Linked DNA regions of Homo sapiens: all the other regions are linked to region 1. Evidence: promoter capture Hi-C in human tissues and cell types (Jung and others, 2019). All regions are on one chromosome and are shown on one strand. Each heading gives the region's core, a stretch centred on a gene start or on the middle of the fragment in contact. The rest is flanking DNA. Distances are from core to core; before and after follow the strand shown.

The links. Contacts are between HindIII fragments. The study calls those that stand out against the background at their distance.
Region 2: a fragment that was not itself captured here is called in contact with the fragment with the promoter of OSR1 in region 1 in 2 of the 25 tissues and cell types used here (IMR-90 fibroblasts and mesendoderm cells).
Region 3: a fragment that was not itself captured here is called in contact with the fragment with the promoter of OSR1 in region 1 in 2 of the 25 tissues and cell types used here (H1 embryonic stem cells and mesendoderm cells).
Region 4: a contact is called between a fragment that was not itself captured here and the fragment with the promoter of OSR1 in region 1, in 1 of the 25 tissues and cell types used here (bladder).

Annotation. Positions count from the first base shown.
Region 1 is chr2:19,357,301-19,360,000 of GRCh38, reverse strand. It overlaps OSR1 (odd-skipped related transcription factor 1), which reads left to right and starts at 1,378. Exons shown (of 3, transcript NM_145260.3): 1 at 1,378-1,660. RefSeq lists enhancers at 1,506-2,034, 2,700. The HindIII fragment of the contact is 12,145 bases long and covers 1-2,700 here.
Region 2 is chr2:18,717,324-18,720,147 of GRCh38, reverse strand. All of the region lies in intron 4 of LOC105373456 (a long non-coding RNA gene), which reads right to left. Among named protein-coding and RNA genes, the nearest start is that of NT5C1B-RDH14, 130 kb to the right of the region's middle. The HindIII fragment of the contact is 6,305 bases long and covers 1-2,824 here.
Region 3 is chr2:18,691,498-18,694,372 of GRCh38, reverse strand. The region is part of intron 4 of LOC105373456 (a long non-coding RNA gene); the gene reads right to left. Among named protein-coding and RNA genes, the nearest start is that of NT5C1B-RDH14, 100 kb to the right of the region's middle. The HindIII fragment of the contact is 5,274 bases long and covers 1-2,875 here.
Region 4 is chr2:18,611,775-18,614,538 of GRCh38, reverse strand. The region is part of intron 2 of LOC105373456 (a long non-coding RNA gene); the gene reads right to left. Among named protein-coding and RNA genes, the nearest start is that of NT5C1B-RDH14, 24 kb to the right of the region's middle. The HindIII fragment of the contact is 5,502 bases long and covers 1-2,764 here.

The DNA.
Region 1 (2,700 bases), core at 129-2,628:
GTTCTAAAGGCCTGGGGATATAAGGAAATCCTCTTTCAACTATGCCTTTGAGGGAGGGGAGTCTTCATTACCATCTCCCTAGGTCAGGTATTACAACCTTCTTCACCTCCCAAGAAAATCAGATTAGCTTTGCAAACCAAAGCTGGAGATAGCAGAAGCTCCTCGGGAGAGAAGCAGTACAGTACTTAGGGACCCACGGAATCTAGGATCCAGCTCCAAGAGTCACTCAGCAGCAACTCTGGGGCAAAGGCAGAGAGTGCAGTTGTGTGATCTGGACCCACACAAGTCCCAGGAAACCAGTGACTCCTCCTTGCCAAACCCAAGGCCTGGAAGGGTATTCCAGAAAGGCATTAGGGAGGGATTGGGCTGGGGTCAGCCGGAGGTCAGCTTTCAGAGATGGGTAGTCAAGGGGGTGATGGTACCCTCCATAATGCCTAGGCAATGAAGATAGAATTTTTAATGTCCAGAACTCTGATTCCTTTCCGATTAAAAACTCCACCTGAACCAGCTCCTTGACTCAGAGGCCCTGGAACTGACAACTTTGCAGCTCGTCTAGCTTGCCAGTGCGGCTCTCTAAACTCTGATCCATCCTAAAACAAATATGTAAGTAGAGAGTGCCACTGTGCATTGGGGTGAAATCTCAGAGAGTTCTGGGCCCCAGGAAAATAACTTTCCTGACCTCCTTTCCCTACTCTTTGTTCTTTCTACTGGACTCCAGAACTTAGGGTCTGGGGTCAACCATAAGCACTCAGATGTTACAGCTCGCTTGCTTCGGTGACCCTGGCCCTCCCGCACCAGGAATTAACCAGCGCTGCCTGGGTTAACACCCTGGCCCCGAGCACGCTTGGATAGCCAGGAGCTGCTCCACACTCGGGGTCTGCCGCCTCTGGAAAGAGATTCTGGGAGGAGATGCGACTCTGTCAGGCGCCAAAGTGCGTTGAAACCCAAGCCGCGGTGTGGGGATCCCGGTGCACAGAGCTACTGCCCCTCCCTCCCTCCTCCCAAAGAGCACGGGCTGTGTCCTAGGAGCCCAAGTATAGGACCTCGAAACGTGCGGTGCCAGCCCGCTCTCATCTGCTAGGGACCGTTTCCTCCAGTGCGCCAGGCGTGCCGCTCTGGACCTAAAAAGGCAGCAGGGGTCGCGCGGGACTGAAGAGGAGGGGACGCAGGTTGGGAGAGGCCGGGTCCAAGCGAGAGCAGCTGCCAAAGTCTGCTGCCCGGGTCAGCAAAAACTTTGTCTTTCATTGCGCAGGCGCAGGGCAGGGTTGGGGGGCAGGGGAGGGAGGGGAGGAATCCTGAGGCAAGGGGCGGGGGTGGGGGTGGTGGAGGAGGGAGGGTGGTGGATTAAAATAAGTAGGCGGCTCGGTGCTAAGGGATGAGTGAGTCGGAGCTCGGCCTCTCCCCGGCACGTTCTCAGCTGCTCCTGGTTCAGACCCAGCGAGGGAGCCGCGAGCGAGGCTCACCGTCCCCGGCGTGCAGGATCCGGGGCTGCTGAGCGCTCGCTCCCGCGTGTCCGGCGCTTGGAGTCCCCGCGGCAGGAGAGGAGTCGGGACACTAGAGCTCCAGGGGCGCCTGTGGGCTCCAGGGCCTCCGGCTTCCCCAGTCCCCTTCAGCTAAAGCCCCAGAGACGTGCTCAGCCCCAGGACCTCTGCGGAACAAGGTAATTGCAGTCCTGGGCGCCTGGGCTCAGCAAAGCGAATGCGGGCAGGACTCCCAGGTTCCTTGTCACTGCTCGGCGGGTGCCTCCTCTCTCTCAATGCCCCTGAAGGAAGCTCTTGCCAAACGAATGCTGTAGGACTTTTGTGAAAGTGAGAGCAGGGTGGTTGGGGGTGCTGCCTCAGGACTTCCTGCGCGGGGTCCTCGGCCTCTGACCGCTGGGGATTAAGGGGGGCGGGCCTCCGCTACTGCGGCCAGCCCGCCCGGCTCTGCGGAATCACGGGCGAGGTGCCCACGGACTTTGAAAGTCAATCTGTGGGCCCCCTTTAAGAAACCAGAGCAACTTCAGCGGGCACAAACTTTCCTGAGACGCGCTCCTAGCTCTGGCTGACGCCCAGGTTGACGAAGAAGGAAGGGAGAGGGAGTGAATGGCCACAGCCGCAGCCGACCGCGCCAGGGACAGGTGCATGCCCCAGCTCGGTAGCGCTTTCGTTCAAGTTTGTCTTTTGAGGAGTTGCGCTCTAGTATGAGGCCGCCTAGACCCGAGAGCGCAGGGCTGCGAGTCTGAACCCCGCCTTGCACTCGCGCTCTAACTTAGGGATATTCTCCATAGGATGATTGCTCTGTGTCGTCAAGGCCTGGAGCGGAACCCTTGATTGTCCTGGTGCAGGGAGGCAATGCAGTGGGCGCAAGCACTGCTTTCCAATTCGAGACCCACACACAGCACTAGTGGAAACTCTGTGGAGCCCTAGGGTCTCCGGGCTGGGGACAGGAAAAGTTCTGTTACTCCCCTGACTGTCCGCTAATCCAGCCGTCAGGAGAGAAAGAAGGGGGAAAGGGGTGAAGGGCTGCCTGCTGAACTAATTTCTCCTCGGAAATGTCTCGGAGAAGAATGAAAAACCACGTTTAGTCCTTTTTCAGCAGCTCAGGCAGTAGCGGGTTGGGTTCTCAATGTGTAAAGTAGCCGCAAGGGTTTCTTTGTTGCCACAATTTGGTAAATTTCACCCAGGCTAAGAGCTGCGCATTGGCTCTGCGGAACAAAAC
Region 2 (2,824 bases), core at 265-2,764, 640 kb after region 1:
TGCTTTCTCCTGATATCCAAGACCTTTCCAAATGCTCTTCCATGGAATTCATGCTCCAGTAATAACACACGACATGTAGTTCCTCCAACAGAGCAAACTCTCTCAGACCTCTGATCTCTTTCATTTGTGGCCAGAACACTGATGCCCCATTCTCTTTACTGTTTTGAAATTCAGTTCATGCGCTATTACTGTTAGGGACATTCTCTGCTCCCTCTTCAGTGCTCATGCATCACTTGTACCATTGCACAATTCCTGAGCATCCTCATCACCATTGCTACTAAGTTCTTCAAGGGCAGGAACTGTGCTTCTTTGATCTTGTTATTCCCAATGTTTGGCATAGGACCTAGAACTGTGGAGTCATATGGTAAATTTCTAGTCAAATAAACTGAATTAATATGTGTCCGCAGTACCTTGTATGGTCAGGAGACAGAAAAGGCTGTTTCGTTTGATGCTAAACAAATAATCTCAAGTGCAAAGTTTCATTATTTGCAAAGTAGTTTCCTAGCATCTAAGACAGTTTCCATTTATTTCATGTTAAACCAAAGGATCTCAACAATTTTATTAACTGGAGTTTCTGTAGCTACACTGTGAATTTACTGAAGATGGGAAACACATTTTATTAACTCATCAAATCACAGATTTTAAATAATGTTCATTGACTGAATGAATGAATAAATTTACTATATTCATTTCCACATCACCTCACAGAACCTAGCATGATGCTGAGCACATAATGGATGCTCAACAAATGACATCCAAATGAATGAGTAAACAAATGAATGTCTTTCTAATTTTTTTTTAACTGTAGTGACTAATAAAAAATGTGGCACATTGCTGCTTAAAGGCCCTTGTTTGAGGCATAGGAAAACTGAGATTCGAGAACTATCAAGTGAAAATCTGGCTACTTTTTCAGGGTTAAGACCCTTTTACAATACAAAGTGAAATATAAAAATATCTGCCAAATGTTTACATTTGTAAGTTTAAAGATGCTAGAAAAACATCATCAAAAGTAGCATCCAGGGTTGCTTAATCTCAAGATTGTCATGGTTATATACGGAGTGACATATTATTTGGCTATGATCTTGGTAGAGTTCCTAAGCTGATACATTTAATGAAGAGCATATTCAGATGTAGAATAGTTTTTATATAAATGACAGAAATAGTGCACTATGTTCAATGTCTACCCATTATGCCAAAACTCCTAAAAGCATTCCTTCCAACCAATCTCACTCTCCCCAAGAGCATAATTGGAGCCCATTAGAGTTCAGGACACAGAATTTTCTCTGTGATGTTTCACATATAAAAAGATTAGGCCATGAGAACCAAGTACAGTTAGATGAGTTCATCTTACCATGGCATTTTCCTGACCAAACAGTCAAACTAGCTCTCTCTTCCAGGAAACTCGTGATTAGATTTTGTTTAGGGAAAGTAGACTCTTTCGGGCTGAGCCTACTTGGCTGAACGGTACCTCACTCTCCCACTGGGGATAATGAACTAAAATGAAGAGTAAATTGGGTCTTCGAGGAACCTAGGTTCAAAGGTGAAGCCAAGGCAGGGCTTTGTGCATGGATACAGTTAGTCTCAGAAATGTTGAACCTCATAACTTCTCAAAACTATCCGCGTCCCAAAACCAAAGGCGCGTGACCCAGCTTCTCAGAGTTCTTGTTTAGCAGAAAAAATAAACACAGATAAAAATTCATCACCCCATAAACTTATACAAAACTCCAATAAAAACTACTTGAAGTAGACAAAATATAAAAAATGAGGAAAGCACTCTCTATTCATAATAATTTGATCCTCATTCTGATTTATTCCAATCTTAAACATAATTTATAAAAGACATACGCAGACCTCACCAGCAATGAAAAACAAATTAATGATATAGCTTATTACCCTTATAAATGTTAGTAATTTAAAAAGAAGAGTAGGCAATGTGGTCAAATGCATAGAAATGGGCCATCTCTCATATTGCTAGTACATGCAGTAAAGACGCACAAATAGGACAAAAGTGAATAACAGATAATAGAAGGGGAAGGAAGAAATGACCCTAGATTCATCATCAGAAAAAAATAATAATCTAACCAATAGGCACTCAATAATGGATACAAATTAATTAATATCCCTCCCATTTTCCCCTTTCTGTTCTTGTCTCCTCTTCCCCTCCCTCCTAGGTCTTATCCATCATCATCACCATCATCATCATCATCATCAAAAAAGAGCAGAGCAAATCCTCTGGGTCTCTTCACAGGGAAACCACCATTCACGAGAAATACAAATATGGTTTCTGTGGGATAAAGACACTGTTGGAAATTGTGTGGCACTTCATTGCCATGCTGTGTGCTGACATTAAATGTTTACTCATGTTTTTCTTAACATTTAAAAAAATTTAACCTTCTATCTCACAGATAATTTTAATCTCCTCCCCACCCCATTTCACTCACATTCTCAAACAATAAACCTTATCATCTTTTAATTCCATTCCAATTTATTGAAGCTTAATTTTACTAGAAAGATAATTTTACAGAGGTGAGATGCAGATTGTTTAAAAGAGTAGTATTGATGACTGTTTTTAAATCTGATATTTTAGAAATGCCCCTTAAATTGCCTTACTAGGTAACTCATCCTAATTATCTTCAGGAAGAGAGTGAGATGGAGGAGTAAGGGAGGCGAGAGGGAAATAGAACTGTTGTGTAATATGTATAAGTACCTGGTGCAGGCTAAGAATTCTACATATATGACCTTGGTTAGTTCCCATGTCAAGCGGAGGAGATTAGGGAGGCTCAGGAAGATTAGGTGGCCAGCTAGAAAGCAGGAAAGGCAGAGA
Region 3 (2,875 bases), core at 253-2,752, 670 kb after region 1:
ATTGATGGGATGTATCTCAAAATAATAAGAGCTATCTATGACAAACCCACAGCCAATATCATACTGAATGGGCAAAAACTGGAAGCATTCCCTTTGAAAACTGGCACAAGACAGGGATGCCCTCTCTCACCACTTCTATTCAACATAGTGTTGGAAGTTCTGGCCAGGGCAATCAGGCAGGAGAAGGAAATAAAGGGTATTCAATTAGGAAAAGAGGAAGTCAAATTGTCCCTGTTTGCAGACGACATGATTGTATACCTAGAAAACCCCATCCTCTCAGCCCAAAATCTCCTTAAGCTGATAAGCAACTTCAGCAAAGTCTCAGGATACAAAATCAATGTGCAAAAATCACAAGCATTCTTATACACCAATAACAGACAAACAGCCAAATCATGAGTGAACTCCCATTCACAATTGCTTCAAAGAGAATAAAATACCTAGGAATCCAACTTACAAGGGATGTGAAGGACCTCTTCAAGGAGAACTACAAACCACTGCTCAATGAAATAAAAGAGGATACAAACAAATGGAAGAACATTCCATGCTCATGGGTAGGAAGAATCAATATCGTGAAAATGGCCATACTGCCCAAGGTAATTTATAGATTCAATGCCATCCCCATCAAGCTACCAATGAATTTCTTCACAGAATTGGAAAAAACTACTTTAAAGTTCATAGGGAATCAAAAAAGAGCCCGCATTTCCAAGTCAATACTAAGCCAAAAGAACAAAGCTGGCGGCATCATGCTACCTGACTTCAAACTATACTACAAGGCTACAGTAACCAAAACAGCATGGTACTGGTACCAAAACAGAGATATAGACCAATGGAACAGAACAGAGCCCTCAGAAATAATGCCACATATCTACAACTATCTGATCTTTGACAAACCTGACAAAAACAAGAAATGGGGAAAGGATTCCCTATTTAATAAATGGTGCTGGGAAAACTGGCTAGCCATATGTAGAAAGAAGAAACTGGATACCTTCCTTACACCTTATACAAAAATTAATTCAAGATGGATTAAAGACTTAAATGTTAGACCTAAAACCATAAAAACTCTAGAAGAAAACCTTGGCAATACCATTCAGGACATAGGCATGGGCAAGGACTTCATGTCTAAAACACCAAAAGCAATGGTAACAAAAGCCAAAATTGACAAATGGGATCTAATTAAACTAAAGAGATTCTGCACAGCAAAAGAAACCACCATCAGAGTGAACAGGCAACCTACAGAATGGGAGAACATTTTTGCAATCTACTCATCTGACAAAGGGCTAATATCCAGAATCTACAAGGAACTCAAACAAATTTACAAGAAAAAAACAACCCCATCAACAAGTGGGCAAAGGATATGAACAGACACTTCTCAAAAGAAGACATTTATGCAGCCAAAAGACACATGAAAAAATGCTCATCATCACTGGCCATCAGAGAAATGCAAATCAAAACCACCATGAGATACCATCTCACACCAGTTAGAATGGTGATCATTAAAAAGTTAGGGAACAACAGGTGCTGGAGAGGATGTAGAGAAATAGGAACACTTTTACACTGTTGGTGGGACTGTAAACTAGTTCAACCATTGTGGAAGTCAGTGTGGCAATTCCTCAGGGATCTAGAACTAGAAATACCATTTGATCCAGCCATCCCATTACTGTGTATATACCCAAAGGATTATAAATCATGCTGTTATAAAGACACATGCACATGTATGTTTATTGAGGCACTATTCACAATAGCAAAGACTTGGAACCAACCCAAATGGCCAACAATGATAGACTGGATTAAGAAAATGTGGCACATATACACCATGGAATACTATGCAGCCATGAAAAAGGATGATTTCATGTCCTTTGTAGGGACATGGATGAAGCTAGAAACCACCATTCTCAGCAAACTATCGCAAGGACAAAAAACCAAACACCACATGTTCTCACTCATAGGTGGGATTGAACAATGAGAACACATGGACACAGGAAGGGGAACATCACACACTGGGTCCTGTTGTGGGGTGGGGGGAGGGGGGAGGGATAGCATTAGGAGATATACCTAATGCTAAATAACGAGTTAATGGGTGCAGCACACCAACATGGCACATGTATACATATGTAACAAACCTGCACAGTGTGCACATGTACCCTAAAACTTAAAGTACAATAATGAAAAAAAAAGATGGATGGATGGATGGATGGATAGACAGACAGATACCATTTTCTTTATCCATTTATCTATTGATGAACACTTACGTTGTTTCCTTATCTTGGCTATTGTGAATAAAGCTGTGATGCACATCAGAGTGTAGAAATGTCTACAAGGTGTTGATTCCATTAATTTGGGGCATATAATCAGAAAAGGAACCACTGGGTCACAAGAGTTTTAATTTTGACTCTCACCAACACTTGCTATCTCTTGTCTTTTTGATAATAGCCATGCTAACAGATGTGAAACTATATCTCATTGTGGTTTTTATATTTATCTGATGATTACTGATGGTGAGCACCTTTTCATATACCTGTTGGATATTTTTATGTGTTCAGAAAAATGTCCAGATTTTTGCTCATTTTTTAAACTTTTTTTTTGCTATTGTGTGACTTCCTTATATATTTTGGGAGTTAATCTCTTATCAGATGTATAGTTTGCAAATATTGTCTCCCAAACCATAAGCTGTCTTTTTCTTTTGCTATTTGGAGAACCTTTTTAGTTTGATATAGTCCCACTTATTTATTTTTGTTTTTATTCACTGAGCTTTTGTTGTGAAATCCAAAAACTAATTGCCAAGGGCAATGTCAAGAAGCTTTTCCTCTGTATATTTTCTTCCAGGAATTTTTACAGTTTTAGATCTTATACTGAGGTTTTTAATACATTTTGATTT
Region 4 (2,764 bases), core at 244-2,743, 750 kb after region 1:
TCAGATCTCGGAGCTGGGTCTGAACACTTGTACATGTAAGTTTTCCTCAGGTAAATCTTAAGCAGGTGGGCAAGATGCTTCTCACACTTATTTTGTGCTTTGTCTTTCTATGACCATGATTAATTAAGCTATTCCTACTGGAGGCTGTCATTCCACAAAGGAGAAAACTAAGTTTTAAAAGAATTCATAAGTGACCCTGCCCCATTACCTCATACAAAATGATGGAGCACAATCCAGGACTGTCCAACTCCAAATCATGCTGTTTCCACTACACTAACTTCCTTCCAGAGTCTACAAAATCTCATATTTCATTCAGGAATCTCTGAATGTATTTAAAGAATATTTGCTTAGTAGCTACATATTTAGCTGCATTACATAAAAAGATGAGAATGCACAGTCTCTACTTCTAAGTAGCTTAGAGGTTAATTCAGGGAAAAACATAATAGTGAGTAGAGGAACAGAAAAGGAGGACTATGTATTAGTTAGGATTCTCCAAAGAAATAGAGCCAATAGGACATTTACAGACATACAGAAAGAGATTTATATGAGGAATTGGCTTATGTGATTGTGGAGGCTGAGAAGTCCCTCAATCCGTGGCATAGTTCCAGTCCAAACTCAAATGCCTGAGAACCAGGGAAGCCAATGGTATAAATCCCAGTCCAAGTCTGAAGACCCAAGACCAGGGCTTGAAGACTGAAGTCAAAGACCTTTGGGAGCTGCTAACTGCTAACACACAATTTGAACAATTTGAACAATTCAGCATTTAACTGATTAGCAGGTGACTAAGCATGACTTTATGGAAAGGGGATGTCCAAAGGCAAGAGAAGATGGGTGTTCTAGCTTAAGCAGAGACAACCATTTCACCCTTCCTCCCCCTTTTTGGTCTATTCAGACCCTCAAGAAAAGACCCCCAGTATACATCTTGGTGAGGGTGGATCTTCTTTACTCAGTCTAACCAGTTCAAAAGCTAATCTCTTCCAGAAACACTCTCACAGACACACCCTGAAATAATATTTTACCATCTATCTGGGCATTATTTAGCCCAGTCAAGTTGATACATAAATTAACTATTACAAAGGGGAAATATAACAAACAAAAATATGACTACGATAAAATGTAGTAAGTGGTTTTAGAGAGGTTCCAAGGAAATGCTTGGCCAGGAGAGTGGAAACAAAGTCTGATGTGTGAAGCAGGCGGTAGGATCTTAGCATTATTTGAATGAGACTAGAGGATCAGGAATGGCTTCTTTGAGAAAATGAAAGTGGTGGGTGTTTGACCTGGTTCTTACAGGCAACCACTCCTCTACCACTGATAGATGGCAGAACAGCACAATTAAAGAAAGCTCCCTCTCTTCCCTTCCCACCAGCACCTTCTAGGAATGTGGCTTCTGTCAGCATGGTCCATGTCCTCCGAATGACTGGCCTAGGAAGGCTCTCCAAGCAGGCATCAGAAACACACATGGAACCCTTTGGGTGGAAAATTCTGGGGCCTTAGGTACATTAAGTATGGTATAAAGTGCGGAAAATAGTAGCATATGTGCTTAGGAAGTACATATGCCTTTTGGTTTTAATGAGTTTGTGTCTTGTATGGAGAAGCATGGCTAAGAAATAGAGTGAGTTCTCTAAAGTATGGAAACTGGATTGTACAGAAAATAGTATCTTTTAGTGTCACAGTGTGGACCTCTTAGTGTCACAGACAGGATTTAACAGGAAGTTCTGGGATAAGGAGGAGGAGGCAAGGATAAAGGACAACATTCTTGACAGAGGGAACTAAATAAGTAAAATGTTGAGAGAGGGGTAGTAAAGGGAATGGTCAGAGATTGAGTAATTCAGAAGCTTGCTTATTGGAAGCAGAAAGTATACATAGTACTTGCTTCCTGGAGAGCTTTTCTTCTTATGCTCCTCTTCTAGTCTTTGCTTCCTGAAAACCTACTTGTTACGGGTTGAATTGTGTCCCTCCCAAAATGCATATAGTGAAGTTCTAACCCCCACTACCTCACAATGTGACCTCATTTGGAACTAGGGTAATTGCAGATGTTATTAGTTAAGATAAGGTCGTACTGAAGTAAGGTAAGCCTCTAGTTCAATATGACTGTTATCCTTATTAAAAGGGGAATTTAGACACAGAGACATGCACACAGAGAGAACGCCATATGAAGATAAAAGCAGAGGTTGAGATAATGCTTCTACAAGCCAAGAAATGTCGAAGGCTGCCAGCAAACCACCAAAGGCTAGGCAAGAGCATAGAACAGATTATCCCTCCCAGCCCCCAAAGGAGCTAACCCTTCTGATGCCTTTATGTCAGGTTTCCAGCCTCCAGAACAATGAGAAAATAAATTTCTGGTTTTATTAGATACTCAATTTGTGGTACTTTGTTATGACAGCCCTGGCAAACTAATATATCTTATCTCCCACTCATTCATCCAAATGGCAAATTCTCTAGGAAGCCTTTCTCTTGCCACCCTTTATAAACCTCATTCTTGCCTTCTCACTTTTGGACTCTCAGAGCACAGTGCTTTGCTTTCTTCCTACTCCTCTTATGATGGACACAGCACCCACTGTGTCACAGTTATGTGGGCACTTGTCTTCTCTTCCTGGTAGACCGTAAGTTCCTGGGGGCAATCAGTGATTGAGTCAGTTTCATCAACTTATCCCTGAAACTTGACACAGCACCTGGCACCTGGTATGTACTCAACACAAGTTTGTTGAATAGAAATGACCTAAAGGAAAAACACAGGGCAAAGCCTGTGACAATATGCTCTTGG